6 separate regions of the Homo sapiens genome follow, and all the other regions are linked to region 5. The links are contacts of gene promoters, found by promoter capture Hi-C in blood cells and fetal thymus (Javierre and others, 2016). All regions are on one chromosome and are shown on one strand. Each heading gives the region's core, a stretch centred on a gene start or on the middle of the fragment in contact. The rest is flanking DNA. Distances are from core to core; before and after follow the strand shown.

Region 1 (2,700 bases), core at 144-2,643, about 13 Mb before region 5:
CATCCTGGCTAACACGGTGAAAACCCGTCTCTACTAAAAATACAAAAAATTAGCTGGGCGTGGTGGCGGGGTGCCTGTAGTCCCAGCTACTCGGGAGGCTGAGGAAGGAGAATGGCGTGAACCCAGAAGGCAGAGCTTGCAGTGAGCCGAGATTGCGCCATTGCACTCCAGCCTGGGCGACAGAGCGAGACTCCGTCTCAAAAAAACAAACAAACAAAAAACAAGCAAAAAAAAAAAAAACAAAGTCTGTCCATCTTAGCAACCACTTTGATACTGGAGAAAGGCTCCTGTCCAGAAGGAAGGGCACAGTAGTGAGGTACTTGCCAATGAGCTGGGTAGAGCTGCCACTGGCTGGCTTCGGGAAGTGTTTATCACTGACTGGCTCATGTTCAGAAGCTTGGAGTGAGGCTGTTGTGTACTGGTTGATTTTCAGAGTACGTGTACTGATCTAAAATTATGTAAATTAATGGCAAGTACTTGTTAGTGACTTGGGACTTTGGTCAAAAAACAGTCTTTTCCTTTCCTGAATATGAAAAGTAAGTTCTTTTAATTAGCAGCCTCCCCTCTTCACTGTTTTTTCTTCCTGCAGTCCAACTAACAGAACAGACCATAAAGGTCTGTCCAGATCATTATTTATGGAAGTATGAGATATATATATTTCAGCTGGTGTTAACATTTTATTTAAGTGCCAGTTACTGAGCAGAAAAATAGCTGTAACTACGAGTTTTTGTAATTTATTGGAAAAAGCTAAATATAAGACATTTAGGGTGTCCTCCCAAAGTCAACACAGGACAAGATCATTTAATATAGGACATGTCCTGTGTATACAGGATGCCTAGCAACTGTATGTAGCCACGGGTGTTTTGGTTGTTAAATGAATCTGTCCTAAAAGGTTCTACGCACATCTAGGTCCTTGGAAGGGAGAGGGCTAAAACGGCGAGTGGAAACCATGGTTTCCCTGAGGACTGCCCAGCTGAGGACCCAAGCAAGATCCTGGGCTTGGGCCTCTTAGAGATGACAAAGCAGGCGCCATTCTCCCCTCACCTGCACGGCCCAGGCTTCAGGTGAGCCACGGGGCCAAGGCGGCCAACAGCTGAGGCGCAGCCCGTGAACTGGGGGCCCACTTGTGCCTAGAGGGCGAGGTCTCGGTAGAGCCAGGCTGTATCAGTCCGTGACACTCCAGCCAGAGGCGATGCCGACGGCTGCCGGAGAAAGCCGGGCTTAGAGCGCCACAGTTCCACGCCCGCCGCCGGCCTCTCAGCCCAGCCGGTCGCCGCAACCTCGCCTCTTCCGCAGGGCGGGGCCAGCCATGAAAGGCGGGGCGGGTCTGGCCACGGGGCGACCGAGATGGCGGCCTCCGGGGGCCTAGAGGGACCCTGGGCGTGCACTCGCCCTTCCGGCTCGGCCTTTAGTTAGTGACCAGCTCCTCGGCGTTCTGCAGAGCGTGGGTTTCAGCGAGTTCTACGTGCCAGGTCCGCCCGGTGCCGGCTTCCTCGCTGCCCCTGGCGGCTCGTCAGCCCCCACTACCCCTGAACTTGGTCCCAATGGCGGCCCGCCCCTCCTTCACCCGGACCGTGGGCATCTGGGCCTCGCCGAAGCCGTCAAGGTGGCTGCTCGGGCTTCTAGAGCCCGTGTCCAGCCCTTTGCCACCGAGGCCTGATCCTCTTTTCTGCCCTAAAGAACTTGCCCTGACAGCCTCTGGCTCCCGGTACTGACGTTTCTGATGTTTGGGGTTGCCTGTTTTCTTGGGTGGAGTGTTAAGATCACGGTTGGGTGGGGTCTCCGGTCAGCATCACCCACTGGGACGCTGAGTATTTTACCCTTAATCCGCATTCAGCCACCCCAGTCCCTCTTCTCCTGAGGTTCTTTCTTTTGGGTCCACGTCATCGTCCCTGTAAGCATTCTGTAAAGACTCTTTACGTTTGTAGAGACCCAACACAATAGGGACAGGGCTCTTGGGTCCCTCAGTTTACCCGTACGAATGGGCTCAAAAAAAGCTCTTCGGACTGAGCAGGCAGGTGGAAGATTGTCCTGAAGACTAGGCAGAACAATTCATAAGAAGTTTGGGGCTATCAGCGTGAGAACAATTAGAGGGAGTCCTAGTAGAATCTCCGTGCATCCAGTGCTGGAAATGTGGAAACTGGGAGGGCCATAGGTTGCTGTAGGTGGTGGACGACAGGGTCCTTAGCACTCATGGCTCTTTTTCTCTTAGCTCTTGAGGATCTTGCTTGTCCAAACCCAGAAGACAGTGCATGAAGCCAGGGGACATCCGCCATGCTCCAAACAACTTGGCCTCAGGTGAGCTGAGCTTCTTTCAGTTTTTTTGTTTGTTTGTTTATGTTTTTTTACTCACATTAGCTATCAGATAATCAGGAAAGGATGAGGAAGGCCTAACTTGGCCAAGCTGTGTTTTCCCCTTTGTATCTATCTCCAGGGCTATGGCAGATGTAAATATGTGCTGGGGAAATGAAAGTTTTGTGTATAGAGAGTGATGAGTTTGGATGTATAGATTTAAATGGAAGAAAGGGGACCTATACCAAGAAATTCTTTCTGAATGTGGAAATCCAGATCGTGTTCTAGAAATGAAAGTCACCTACTGAAATCAGACTCATTTTTTGTGAGACGGAGTCTCACTCTGTCGCCCAAGCTGGAGTGTAGTGGCACTATGATATCGGCTCACTGCAGCCTCTGCCTCCTGGG
Region 2 (2,700 bases), core at 111-2,610, about 14 Mb before region 5:
AATTCTAGCTACTCAGGAGGCTGAGGCAGGAGAACCACTTGAACCCAGGAGATGCAGGTTGCAGATCACACCACTGCCCTCCAGTCTGGATGACAGAATGAGACTCCATATCAGAAAAAAAAAAATCAGGAAACAGCCATTACTTTATACAAGAAGCACAAGTTGGGGGGATATTTAGTCTTGTGGTTAAGAACATGGGCTCTAATCCAGGCAGCCCAGGTTGAAAGCTGCTTGCTCTCCACTACCTAGGCATGGCACTGAAACTATGCCTAGGAAATGGGGTTAGTTTGTTTTGGGGGTTTTTTAGGGGGCGGAGAACAAAGTGTCGCCCTGTTGCCCAGGCTGGAGTGCAATCGTGCAATCTCAGCTGACTGCAACCTCCACTCCTGGGTTCAAGCAATTCTCCCACCTCAGCCTTCCAAGTAGCTGGGACTACACGCTGGGCTAATTTTTTGTATTTTTAGTAGAGACAGGGTTTCACCATGCTGGCCAGGCTTGTCTTGAACTCTTGATCTCAAGTGATCCACCTGCCTCAGCCTCCCAGAGTGCTGGGATTACGGGTGTGAGCCAGCGCCCCCAGCCGGAAATAGGGTTAGTAATGTTTCCTGCCTCTTCAGGTGGTGGTGAGGGTTAATTAATAAATGTTTCTGAAATGTGGTATTAGCTTCATAGGACAGCCACAACAAGTTACCACAGTCAGAATGGTTTATAACTCAATCTGGAGGCCAGAAGTCTGAAATCAATGTGTCAGCAGCATTGCACCTCTGAAGGCTCTAGGAGAGTCATGCTTTGTCTGTTGCACCTTCTAGTGGTGGCTAGCATTCCTTGGCTTGTAAAAACATCACTCTAATCTCTGCCTGTCTTCACATGCCTTTTCCCTTGTGTATCTGTTTCTCTCTATGTTAGACCCTATTTCCAAATAGGGTCACATTCGCAGGTATTAGGGGTTAGAACGCCAATATATCTTTTGGGGGGACACAATTCAACCCACAACACAGATTAAGCTGATGTATAAGTTAAAATCAGTTTATACTTTAGGCTTTAGGTTAAAACACCATATTTAAAATAGTAATTTGGGTAGGGGTGTGGGAGAGGATGAAGCAGGGTCCTAAGCTTACAGTGGCACCCAAGCCTCCAATGCTGTGACCTGTGTGTTGTGAGGCCTCGTGCTGTAGGAAGCAGGGGAGAGGTCAGGATGGGAAAGGAGAGAAGGGAGGGACAGTTGGATGGAGTGGCTGCTTCCTAAGAACTTAGACTCTGGAGTAGGTGTTCCATGTCCCTTGCCTCCTCAGCCTCCTTTGACCCTCATCCTGAGTGCAGGGAACCTAATGCCAGTGAGGACTCTTAGGGAGGAGGGGCAGAGATAAGGCCGAGAGAGTTGGGCTTCTTCCCAATGCGAATTTCCTGGCCTCACATTGGCAGATGAATTTCTGCCACCAGATTCCCCCTCACATTTTCTTCATTTGTTTTTTAGGGGAGCAAATAAATATGATAAAATCAGGAGAAATCATCTAGTTTTCTCTAAACATGAGGTAGAAAATTTGTCTTTGTGAATCTCGAGTCCTGCGGCAAGTAGCCTGTTTTTTCCTCTCTCACAGTCTCAGTATTAAAGCTTGGAAAGCAATTGGCTAGTGAGCGTTAGCTGGCTTTGGAAGCATTGCCCACTTTTTTTTTTTTTTGAGACAGAGTCTTGCTCTGTTGCCCAGGCTAGAGTGCAGTGGTATGATCTTGGCTCGCTGCAACCTCCGCCTCCCGGGTTCAAGCGATTCTCCTGCCTCAGCCTCCCAAATAGCTGGGATTACAGGTACCTGCCACCGCGCCCGGCTAATTTTTGTATTTTTTAGTAGAAACGAGGTTTCACCATCTTGGCCAGGCTGGTCTCGAACTCCTGACCTCATGATCCATCCGCCTTGGCCTCCCAAAGTGCTGGGATTACAGGTGTGAGCCACCACATTGGCCTTTTTTTTTTTTTAAATGGTTCCTTCTTGGCTGCCTTAGACTTATTAAAGCACATTAGAGGTGGGGCTCTGTGGGAGAAAAATAGTCAGATGGTGACTAAAGATAAGGCAGTGTAGGGCTAAAGCCAAAAGAAGACACAGAAGCAAAGGTTTCAAGCTGTATTACACTCACTTTCTAAGAATACATGATTATGAAATCTTTCAAGCCATCACAATAGGAAAGCCAATGGTCTACTGGCCCTTCATTCATATCGCTCAGATGGAGCAATTGCCAAGATTTTGCCACACTTGCTTCTCTCCCCTAACTGTGTCCCCTGCTCCTGCCACTCCTTTTTCTTTTTTTTTTCTTTTTTTTTTTTTTGAGACGGAGTCTCGCTCTGTCACCCAGGCTGGAGTGCAGTAGCGCAGTCTCGGCTCACTGCAAGCTCTGCCTCCTGGGTTCACGCCATTCTTCTGCCTCAGCTTCCCGAGTAGCTGGGACTACAGGCGCCAGCCACCACGACTGGGTAATTTTTTTTTATTTTTAGTAGAGATGGGGTTTCACTGTGTTAGCCAGGATGGTCTCGATCTCCTGACCTCGTGATCCACCTGCCTCGGCCTCTCAAAGTGCTGGGATTACAGGTGTGAGCCACCACGCCTGGCCTCCTTTTTCTTTTATGAAGCTTTTAGAGACAGATCCCAGACATCATATAATTTCACCCTTGCTTACTTCAATATGCATCTCTTAAAAATTATGGACTTT
Region 3 (2,700 bases), core at 41-2,540, about 15 Mb after region 5:
TACTACACTGTGATATTTAACCTCCTCTTGTCCTAGTTTTCAGTGAACCTTAAGGAAAGCTTGTCCTTTATGGTCCCCCAATTAGGTTCAGTTCAATAGCATTCACTGAGCTGAAAGTCAATGCCAGGCAGTGAGCGTGGGAATAGAGTTCACAGTCCCTATCAAGAGATACCAGCCTCCTTCTGCATCACATGTCTCAGCGTCAACTATGAAACTACTTTTTCTTGCCCAGACAACTCCACAGATGGTTTCACTGAGGATTTAACCTCAGTGCTTATCAAAATGGGCTCCTGTAGCCTGAACCCCCAACAATACTGGATACCCTTTGATTAGTGGTAGTGAGCATTGCAACCCTCTCAGATAGTGAAAAGCAGCAGTCACCTTAAAGGCCACCTAGTCCAGTCTCACCCATTTCACAGGGGAGGAAACTGAGGCCTAGGGATAGAGTACAGCTAGCCGATGAAGAAGTCTGCAAAGGTATCTGGCCCTGCATCTGCTTGCTTTGAGACTAACAGCCTGACTCACCATGGTGGTATTTTGATAAACGACACCAGGCACTCTCACTGGCTTAGATTGATTGACGGATTAGAAATAGCCATCTGCCCTTGCCAGGAATGAAAGCAACAGAGACATGCAAGCAAAACCTTCAACAGATTTATTTTACTTCAAATGGAACATATCATAAACAATTAGACTATCTGCTATGGTTTTTAAACAGACAGATAGTCTGAATGGTCCTATCTAGACACACCAGTCCCATTATAAAAGCCCCATCAAGCAGGGCTCGGCTTCCCACACCTGTAGTCCCGGCTACTTGGGAGGCTGAGGTGGGAGGACTGTTTGAGCCCAGGAGTTTAAAACCAGCCTGGGCAACATAGTGAGACCCTGTCTCTAAAAATAATAATAAATTAAAGCTCCAGAAAGACCTCTACAGTGAATCTGACCCCTCCCTCCCCGGAATGAACACTAACAAAGAGCTGCTACTAATAGCATTTCAAACAGTTACTGGAAAAAAGTAATGACTCATTACATGTTCATTTTTATTTAAAATAATTTAACAAAGGTAGAAATATTTAGAGAAAAAAAAAATCTCCCATACCCCAAAGAGAGAGACAGGGTTAACATTTTGGGAGGGAGACAGAAGGGAATCATGCTATAAACAGCTTTCTCTGTCTTTTCAGAATTTATTTATTTATGTTTAAACCTCTAAAGAGGTTTAATTCTTTCTTGGGTATCAATTGCCTGTGATCAAGGAGTAATCATATTGTTACTAATACACTCTTGACAGCTTTTGGTCATGCAGTTCTGAGCAGTTGGAAGATAAAGTTCTTAGTTACAGCTTCTAATACTCATAAATCTCACCAACAGTGTGGGGCCCCACTGGAGTTCCCACTCTCATCTTGACCAAGATGATTTACTCAGCTTGCCCACAGTGCTGCCTCTTGACATTCTGAAGCCCTGGGGAATTCCTCCACACCCTCTGACTTCCTGTAACTGAGCACTGAGGCTCAGTGCATCTCTATTTAGCACTCCTCTTACTGTCTCATATTTAACTAGTGTTTCCACTGGATTGCAGAAGTTTTGAAGGCAGAGCAGGATTACATTTTTCTCCTCTTTAAAAAAAAAAAGAAAAGAAAAGAAAAAAAACCCACAGTGCTTTCACAGAGCCTCAAAAGAACTCGAAATACTTGCTGGCATTGTACTGAATATTCTCAACCTTTTCCCCCTACCCAGATACATCCACAACAATAAAGTTGGAGCAAGGTAGAGAAAAGTTAGTAGATGTTTATAATGAAAGCATAGAAAACAAATCAGATTAAAGCACTATTAATAGCAAACAAGAATCGTGGGCTATCCTATTGCTAATAACAATAATAGTAACATATAACTGTGAACCTTTATTATACACTAAGCATTTCCTATACATTCCTTCACTTAGCCTCGTCTATATGGCAGATGTTCCATTATCCCCACTTTACACATGAAGACACCGAGGCTGGGAGAGATTAAGTAGTTTCTCCAAAGTCACCTGCCAGAGAGGAAGGAGCTGCGACTCTAATTTTGCTTTCTCTGACTTCACACCATCCCATTTTTCCAGAATCAAGAAAACATGAGCACTCAGGAATATTTTCACATTTTAAACTTTATTCAAAAAGCAGCACATAAGATATATCTTAGCACTAATTCCATGCAATCACCAAATTTTCCTAAACAACAGTAGTAGTAGTAATTTCTTAGAGTCGCTGTAAGCTCCTTAACTGTCTTCTGAATTAATAAGGAAAATTAAATTATGTTTTCTAGACTTTGCATTAGTATATTTCATTACTTTCCAAGTTTTCAAAAATTGGTGATCTGAGTAGAGTGAATTCACCTTGTCTAAGCCACTTAGGGGCTTAGAGACTCTGTTATCTTAGAAATCTTCACCTTAGAATTCTACCTATTACATTATACAATTAAACAAACTACTTTTTTTCTCATGCATTGTACCAATCAGCCCCTTAACTGAAAAAAGATGACCCTTGGAAGCTTAGAAGAGAATTGACAACGAATACTTCTTTTGCCAGGTCTTTGGGCTGGGATACAAAACATCACGTTATCTATGAATATATTGTGGTCCCTCAGTGAAAGCTGTCACCAAATATTGCAATAAAACTAAGAAAACTTTTGAAGTGGAATGCATATTTCTGCCCAGAAAATGCT
Region 4 (2,700 bases), core at 176-2,675, about 15 Mb before region 5:
TTTTATATATTTATGTTTTTCACTAACAAATATCTCCATAATAATACTGCTTTTATTAGTTTTGGCATTATATTTCAAGTCAAACTTTATTTCAGGTAGAATTTTAAACCTAAAAATCTTTGGTGTATCTGTTAGATGAAAGCAAAATATAGTTTGTTAGTAAAATAAATTTGAAAAATTATCTTGAAATTCTTGCCAAGAATTTAATTGGGCCCAAATTTTTATATATATGCACACACACATGTATCTATAAACTTGGGAGAATTTGGTTAAGAAATAGAGATGTGGGAGGTCTACCTAGGCAAGGTGAAGAGATGAGAAGCGATAGGATATATGCTGAGAAAACAGTTAAGTTAGAGCGTTCATGTAGGGAAGGAGACAAAAATAAAAGGAAAGTTTGGGGCCTGGTGGCAGAAACTTCAAATGACCAGCTAAAAAGTTTAGGCAAGAACTTCAAGATAATTTTCTAGCAAGCAGGGCCTTTGAAAAGTAGGCAATTAATTATAAAACAAATATAGATAAAATGATGTCCTTTAATTATTCTGGGAAAGGGGACACAGCATTGCCCAGTGCTGGAGACTGGTCTGTTTCTCTCAAGCAACGAATAATTTGAATCATGAATTCCCACTTTCAAGGCAATGTCTTGCAATTACGTACGGCAATTCAGAGTGCTTGGAAAGTGTTTTGTTTTCTCAGATCTAGCCATTTAATATTTACTGCTTGCTTACAACTATACTCTGAACCTTATTTTAGGAAGTTGTACCCAATAAAAGGGTTTATTTAGTTTTCTGTCCAGGCAATGAAGCATATATGTGTTTTTACTTTGGGGGAAGTAAAGCAAATGAACTGGCATTTCTTGAGGGCCAGGTATACCAGGCAGTATGTAAGTAGCTTTATATATGCATCTCATTCAATCTTCACTACACCCTTACAAAAAAAGTAGTGACCATTTTCTTTTATAGACAAGAAAATCAAGGCTTTAAGGATCAAGTCTCAGGCATATAGCTTATAATTGTCAAAGAGGGTATCCAAACATGGGTCTGTCTGACAATTGCCAGTCATTCACAGTGTTACTCTTTGAAGCGCTCAAGTTTATAGTAAATGAATTGCTGTGCTGTTCATATACAAAAGCTTAAGGTTAGCAGATAATAAAAGATGGTGTGGATGGAGAGAGGAGTTACAAGTGATACTTGCTAGCATGCAAAAATAACAGAAAATGGGCCAAGAGGAGGATTCCTTATAGCCAGGCAGAAATGTCTGTTAGAATATGTAGGAAAGGATCACATCATCATAGAACTTGAGTGAATATGAGCCTAAGGGAAGATTCGTAGCAGTGATTTTATCAGAAGTGAGTCATCTGACAGTTCTAATCAGAATCACCCCCTTTATTATATAGCTGAGGTCATCCCTGTGCTTTCTCTGATGTTCCTGTTTCAAGAAGAGGTTGATTCCAGACAAGTGAAACATACCTGAAGATTCTGGTTTGGACATTATAAATGGTCTGACAAGAAAGTGAGCTTCAGATTTTAGAACTCAGTGATGGTGGTAATGTTAGAAATATTTAACAATCTGTGTTCTTTTATAACAGCACTTTGCAAACTTCCATTATACTAACCCTAAAGGGGAGGAAATTGAAAATGCCCTCAGGAGTCTTGAGACATCATTTGAAGTGATATGGGAGTAATATTTTTTTTTAAGTCTCTTGCTTTATATTTAGGGAAAGCTTTTGTTCATTTCCATATCTATTTGTTTTAATGAAAGTTAAATTATTTTACTGGTTGTCTCCCTACCCTCACCCTAAATTTTCAAGTACCATTGACAGCCTAGAAAGAGGGTGCTTGTTTTACTGTGACTTAGTAGGCTGCTACCCTTTGGCCTGGAACAGGTACCCCAGTGTGAGAAGTACCGTCTTCCAGGGTTTGTGCTGCCACAAAAGCATCTGCTGAGGCTCTATAGATAACACAGGGGGCGACCACATTCTTGTTGACTTTACCACACTTTGTGACTCCCTCACTTTTCATGTTCCTTCCCCCCCTCAGGTTCGGATTTCCTGTTTATCAAACTCCCATGGTTTCTTTCTTTCACTTGATCGGCATGACTTTTTAAGGGCGTGGTCTCTTGATCTGTCCCTCTAGTTTTATTTTTGGAGTTTCTTTTTTTGTCTTACCAGGGGAATGTAACCAAATATATCTATCTAATTCTAGCAGGTACATATTTTTTCCTCTTGATGCTGCTTAATATTTTATTGGAGGCACATTTACAGTATGTATGACCTTACAAATGGCAGGCTTAATATGGGTATTGTTTGTTTTGGGTCTCTTCTGGGTCTGGGTGGCACAGGTGGTGGTGGCAAATTGTCATTTCTGTCTCTTGGATGGAAGGAAACAAGCTCAGGCCAGTATATAAGAAAACTAGCTTCAGGTTGCGAATGAGTGCCAGCTTATGTATTGTATTTTCTAGTTAACTCCCAGTTGACTTCCAATTTTTGCTACAGTCTTGAGTAGAGTTCAGTGCTTCTTGGGAATTTAATAGCAGCAAGGGTTTCCTTTGCAAAATATTTTTATACCTAAATCTTACATGAAAAGGGTTGTTTGCTGACTCACTGATTAACTAGACTTGGTTTATGTTAAGCCTTTGAGTCCTTTGTTACAGACATCATTTGTGCCCAAGTTGCTTTCTCCTCCTGAAACCCCATTGCTG
Region 5 (2,721 bases), core at 94-2,593:
AGCTCCTAATCACCTTCAGGACTCTAAACAGATGTCACCTCACCTCCTTTGAAGAAACCCTCCCTGACTGTCGGGGATGGAGGAGGTACTTGCTTGAGTGCCCAATACTGCCCTCTGCACAAGCCCATTCCATGCCATGCTCTGATACCTGTTGTCCTATCTCCAAGTGTGACCTCTCTCCTCCTAATCACCCCCCACAGAGTGGGAGAATCCTAGAGGGAAGGATCTGGCAAGGCCCTTACAGACCATCCAGTCAGCCTTCTCAACTAGACAGATGGAGAAACCAGGCCTGTGCAACAGTAATGGCCACTCTGGGCTTACGGTGTGCCAGGCACTGTCATACTAGTGATAACTAACTAGTAGCTGCCCTACTAGTTAGGTATTATCCTTAACCCATCTACCGGTAAGGAAGCTGGATCAGAGATGTCCTACATGAATTTCTGAGCAGTTTATGCCTCATTTCTTCTGTGAATTGTACACTGCCTGTGCCCGTTTTCCTACGTGAATGCTGTTTTAGTTACTGATCAGTAAGGTTTTGTGTATGTGTATACATCTAAGGTCCTCTGCCAGGCACGCTACTGCAAATAATTTTTTCTGGTTAGTTTAGTTTGGTCTAATAGTGTTGTTTTTGATACACAAGCTCTTAATATATATTTAGACAAATGTCCACCATTTCCTTGCTTTTAAGCTTGAAATGACTTCCATTATCTGAGATTTCCTTAACAAAGGAAAAAGCCTGGACCCCAAACTATCCCTTAACAAGCACAGGCTGACGCTCCCAGTGAGCCAGCCTGGTCCTAAACTCTATCTGCCACCATTTAACCCTCACGGCAACTTGCGAGGCGGCTGGTTATCACCGTGGTCGTTTTATGGTCGGGGAAGCTGAGGCCAGAGCCCGGGCAGGAGCGCACACAACCAGACGGTGGGGCGTGCGGGAGATCGGAGCGGTGTCCCTGCGGGGGCTCCGCCTGGCTCCTGGCGCTCCGCACCTCCCAGCCCTCGGCGTCCCGGCGCGCCACCACCCGGAAAAGAACGACCGCTTCCGCACTCCCCCCACCAGGGGCTGGGGCCTGCAAGGGGGACTCGAAGCCTCCCGCCGCCTCCCGCCCCTTGCCTGGCAGCGGAGGACCCAAGCAAGGGCAAAGAGTTCCAACCCAGCCAGAGCCGCACCTCTTGCAGCGACTCCGGCACCAGCGCGGGCACGATGGGCCGCTTCACGCCGCGCTGCTCCTTCTCCTTCTCGCCGCCCTTCTCCTTTCCGTTCTCCGTATCACCCTTCTCAGCCTGGGTCATTATGGCCGGAGACACCCACCAACCTCTCGCCTCAGCGCTGCAGCCACGACTGCCGGGATGGAAGGGCCACCGCGCAGGCGCACGGCCGGCTGCCCACAGTCAAGATGGCCGCCGCGGAGTCGCCCCAGAGGGCTCCGAAAAGGCGGGGGTGGGGCTGCCCGGCGCAGGGGCTGGGGGCGGGGTGTGCATGCGGATTGATTGGGTGGGTGTTGCTGTGATTAGTCCTGACTGTGTAGATGCCAGCAACATAGTACACATAGCTTTTCGAGCGCCTAGTGGGGGTCGGCTGATAACCCGCATCTTATTTCGTCCTCACAGGCATCTCTTCTCCTGGCTTCCCAGATACCATATGTACTCTTAGTTTTTCTCATATGTCTTCATGTTCAGTCCAGCCTCTGATGTTGGGGTTAGGTCTTTTCCAGGCACACTCCTTGGGTGACTATCCAGTTTCCTGGCTTTAGCAATGAATACGATTCCCAAATATATATATCCAGGATGAACCGCTCAGAGAGATCCGTACTGATAACCAGTGCCTACTTGGTCTCTCCATCTGGATTGTCTACAAGGCACTGCAAACTTAAATATGTCCAAAATTTAACTCTTGATTCCCTCCCCTCTCACTTTCACCATCTCAGTAAATGTCATTTTGATTCTTCACTTGTTGACAGCTTCTACATCCAATCCATCAGTAAATCCTGCAGTCTCTAAAATAGATCTTGAATTCATCCACTTCTCCATTCCCATGCCACTACCTAGCCCAAGCCACTATCATCTCACCTGGATGACTACAACAGCCTCTTAACTCGAACTCCTTGTCCTGTCCCCCTATGATCTGTTCTTATATAGTTGCCCACGTTGTTTTAAAATATTACGTAGTTAATACTACTATGTACCCAGCACTCCACTAAGACTTACCTCAAAAATTAGATGTCACTCATGCTTTAAACTCTAATGGTTTCCCTTTGCTCAAAGAACAGAATCTAAACTAACCACCACCTAAAGACCATATCTAGTTATTGCTACATTTCTAAGTTCACCTCACAACACTCTCCCCATTCCTTGGCATTTCCAGCTACACCTGTTTTATCTTTCTCAGACATGCCAAGCCCTTCCCGTCATCGGGCTGTTGCACTTGCTGTTCATTTTGCCTTGGATGCTCTTCCCTCAGCTGTCTCATTCTCACGTCTGAACTCAAATGTCACCTCAGGCCTTCCGCAGTTATTCTCTCATCATCCTATTCCCTTTGAAGCATGAAGCATTAGTCTGTAATTATCATGCCTGCTCACTGTCTCCCACACTAGAATGTAAGCTCCGTGAGACTTTGCCAGTTATCTTCAGCACATGGTAGGTGCCCAATAAGCATGTGATGACTAAATACTAAATAAAGAACTCTTGGAGGTAAAAATTTAATCCCCGTTTTACAGGTGA
Region 6 (2,738 bases), core at 185-2,684, about 13 Mb before region 5:
GGCGGGCTGGGCGCAGCCGGGAGGCCTGGGGTTGGGAGCGGGGAGCTCAGGTGGGGGACGGTGAGGGTGGGCCGCGCCCGGGGCGCGGAGGGCGGCGGCCGGGCCCGGGTTCCGGTCGCGCTGCCTCTCTGGGGCCCTGGGGGCATCGCTTGCGGGGAGGGGGCGCCGCGGGGGCGCGTACAGGAGCCCGGATGGCAGGCGGGGTGGGGGTGGGGGTGGGGGTCTGTGGTTTCCGTCCGGGGCTCTGGCCTTGGCCGAGTTTGGGGGAGGGACCCGGTGCCTCGGGATGCGCCGGGCCCTGGGTGGGGGGCGGGGTGGGGACGGGGGGCTCCGCCTTCTCAGCTCTTGCGGCGAGTTGGGGTTCGGGCGCTGAGGCAGAGACGCCACCCTAAGTCCCATCAGTCCTGGGGATCGGACCAGTGGACTTTCTCTTAAGATTTCCTCTTTCATTCTTAAGAATAGAAGTGTTATTATTTTTTTTAATGCCCTGGCTATGTGAGTTTGAATCGAAGCAACTTTAAACCTTAGAGCAACTAAACTCTAAGTGCAGCGGGTGCGATGCGTCAGTAGGGTGAGCACATAAAAAATCCATGTCTTGCACCTGTATTTTAGCGTACTATGCAGGTGAGTGAAAGCAGTGGATAATGTACTGGGAGTCTTATGGATTTATGGTAGTGGGTATGAGACCCTGGTGAAATAAGGGGGTGGAGGAAGGCGAAGGTGATGGCTTACTGTTTCTTACCAAGTGAACTGCAGGATTCAGCCTCTGACTCAGACCGCTTCGAGAATTTTGTTCGTAGAAATAATTTAAATTTATTCAAATAGTTTGATGGCAGCTAAAATTGAATTATAGAGCACGTTTTCTTTTCAGCGGAGTGAATTTTTCCTTCGCTCCAAAGCTGGCCAAATGGAATTCAAGCATTGCAACTTCTTTCAGTGTTTTGTCTGGAGAGAGGACTTTGAACCGAGACTTTTCGAAGTTAAGTTCCTATAGCCTGCTTCTGAATCTGCCAAGCTTGAAAGCTTTGGCAGTTGGGTGTATGTAGTTGTTGCCTTCGTTCTCTTCCCTTTTGGAGGGAGCGTTGTCTCCTACTTTGTATCTTCCAGACATCTGTGGTCTTCCCCCCACCCCTCGAGTTTGTGAGTGGTGAATGAAGAAAGACTAGGCTGCTGGTATGCAGAGGTCGGCAAAAGGAAATCGAGGAGTGGTTTTAGTGAAATGAGAGCTTTGTATCATGAATAATGGTGGCTTAGGCTAGACATCAACTTGAAGAGACGGCAGCATTTCCTTTCATAAAGTCTAGGCTAATGTTTTTCAGATCGCTAAGTTGTAGTTTGTCTGGAATTTAGGAAGCCATTTCAGTATTTGTCACTTGGTGAACGAACATTCAATACCTTCAGATGTCTTCGTGTTGACTTGTATTCATCCTAAGAAATAGTAAATATAGTCTCAAGTGTTATTTATGTTATACTGCTGGTTTATTCTCTGCTTAAATTATTGACATAAATTTCTACTTTGGAGGCTTTTCGTTTGAACTAAGGCTGTGCGGAATTTATTTTACTTTTATATTTAAATCTTTGAAAAATCTCTGATTAAAAAAAAAGTACCCTTAAAGGTTTGAGGATGTCCTTTCACACCAGACAAAATTTGGTTAATTTGCGCCCAATATTCATTACTTTGACCTAACCTTTGTTCTGAAGGCCGTGTACAAGGACAAGGCCCTGAGATTATTGCAACAGTAACTTGAAAAACTTTCAGAAGTCTATTCTGTAGGATTAAAGGAATGCTGAGACTATTCAAGTTTGAAGTCCTGGGGGTGGGGAAAAATAAAAAACCTGTGCTAGAAAGCTTAGTATAGCATGTAACTTTAGAGTCCTGTGGAGTCCTGAGTCTCCCACAGACCAGAACAGTCATTTAAAAGTTTTCAGGAAAAACCAACTTAAAAAAAAATAAGGTGGCTAATTAAAAAAAAATGAAGCATTTAACAGTGTTCAGGTTTCAGAGTATGGAAGAGGGGTTTTTTAAACTGTTATCTGATTATTTCTTTTACCAACATGATATAGAAAAGTGTATTTCCAGTATTAAAATTTATCAGACTGAGCTTACTGTTCCTGTTAATGACTGGAATAAAAATTGGCATAAATGAGGGTCTGTATGCTTGTTTTAATAACACCACCACCAAGATAGAAAACGAGGAGGCAAGTTTCTCCAAGGGTATTTTGAAATGTGTTAGCAAAACTATTGCAGATACTCGTTTTTGTTATAGGGTGAGGTGGGGAGAGGCGCATGCTAAGTATTGTTGAAACTAGGGATGTAGAGAATTAAAAGTTTGAATATAATTATTTTGTAGTTATAAGTAGCAGTGAAATTAAATCTCCTGCAATAGACTATAGAAGTATATTTAGCCAAATGAAACTTCAGTGTTATTGAAATGAAATAATACATCTGTCCTGTTACAAGATTATTTTTATTTCTCTTGTGGTTTCCTAGCTTCTGATAATCAATAATTGTAGATGAGTAGGTGGTAAGTTTTAAGTTTGTACTTTGAGCTTAGTCGGAAGCATGCTTGACTGCCAACCCGGGGCACAAAGGATGAAGGCTTTTAGAACTGGACAAACTTCTAACAAAAGGTATTTGCAACTCTTTTGTAGTGTGTCATGTTGATTTGTGACATTGTTTTTGAAAATATGTGTTAACTTAGTTTTCTTGTAGCCCTCTTTTTATTGGAACTGTGGTA

The links. Contacts are between HindIII fragments. The CHiCAGO score rates a contact against its expected background, and 5 or more counts as called.
Region 1: a contact is called between the fragment with the promoter of ZNF621 here and the fragment with the promoter of ACTR8 in region 5, in 2 of 17 cell types (total CD8 T cells and total CD4 T cells). The highest score is 7.1, in total CD8 T cells.
Region 2: a contact is called between a fragment that was not itself captured here and the fragment with the promoter of ACTR8 in region 5, in 1 of 17 cell types (total CD4 T cells). The highest score is 5.5, in total CD4 T cells.
Region 3: a contact is called between a fragment that was not itself captured here and the fragment with the promoter of ACTR8 in region 5, in 1 of 17 cell types (total CD8 T cells). The highest score is 5.8, in total CD8 T cells.
Region 4: a fragment that was not itself captured here is called in contact with the fragment with the promoter of ACTR8 in region 5 in 2 of 17 cell types (total CD4 T cells and activated CD4 T cells); the score reaches 5.2 in total CD4 T cells.
Region 6: a contact is called between a fragment that was not itself captured here and the fragment with the promoter of ACTR8 in region 5, in 1 of 17 cell types (activated CD4 T cells). The highest score is 7.9, in activated CD4 T cells.

The regions. Positions count from the first base shown.
Region 1 is chr3:40,523,567-40,526,266 of GRCh38, forward strand. It overlaps ZNF621 (zinc finger protein 621), which reads left to right and starts at 1,394. Exons shown (of 5, transcript NM_198484.5): 1 at 1,394-1,708; 2 at 2,213-2,298. The coding sequence starts at 2,275. RefSeq lists enhancers at 996-1,085, 1,364-2,176, 1,736-1,875 and a silencer at 1,276-1,435. The HindIII fragment of the contact is 8,303 bases long and covers 395-2,700 here.
Region 2 is chr3:39,398,149-39,400,848 of GRCh38, forward strand. No RefSeq gene overlaps it. Among named protein-coding and RNA genes, the nearest start is that of RPSA, 7.2 kb to the right of the region's middle. The HindIII fragment of the contact is 499 bases long and covers 1,112-1,610 here.
Region 3 is chr3:69,081,567-69,084,266 of GRCh38, forward strand. No RefSeq gene overlaps it. Among named protein-coding and RNA genes, the nearest start is that of ARL6IP5, 2.0 kb to the right of the region's middle. RefSeq lists enhancers at 511-570, 1,375-1,534. The HindIII fragment of the contact is 2,467 bases long and covers 58-2,524 here.
Region 4 is chr3:38,517,866-38,520,565 of GRCh38, forward strand. The region is part of intron 5 of EXOG (exo/endonuclease G); the gene reads left to right. Among named protein-coding and RNA genes, the nearest start is that of EXOG, 23 kb to the left of the region's middle. The HindIII fragment of the contact is 592 bases long and covers 1,130-1,721 here.
Region 5 is chr3:53,880,809-53,883,529 of GRCh38, forward strand. It overlaps ACTR8 (actin related protein 8), which reads right to left and starts at 1,344. Exons shown (of 13, transcript NM_022899.5): 1 at 1,171-1,344. The coding sequence starts at 1,293. RefSeq lists silencers at 971-1,080, 1,471-1,560 and an enhancer at 1,231-1,310. The HindIII fragment of the contact is 9,111 bases long and covers 687-2,721 here.
Region 6 is chr3:41,199,758-41,202,495 of GRCh38, forward strand. The region is part of intron 1 of CTNNB1 (catenin beta 1); the gene reads left to right. Among named protein-coding and RNA genes, the nearest start is that of CTNNB1, 1.6 kb to the left of the region's middle. RefSeq lists enhancers at 1-397, 509-618 and a silencer at 39-158. The HindIII fragment of the contact is 826 bases long and covers 1,022-1,847 here.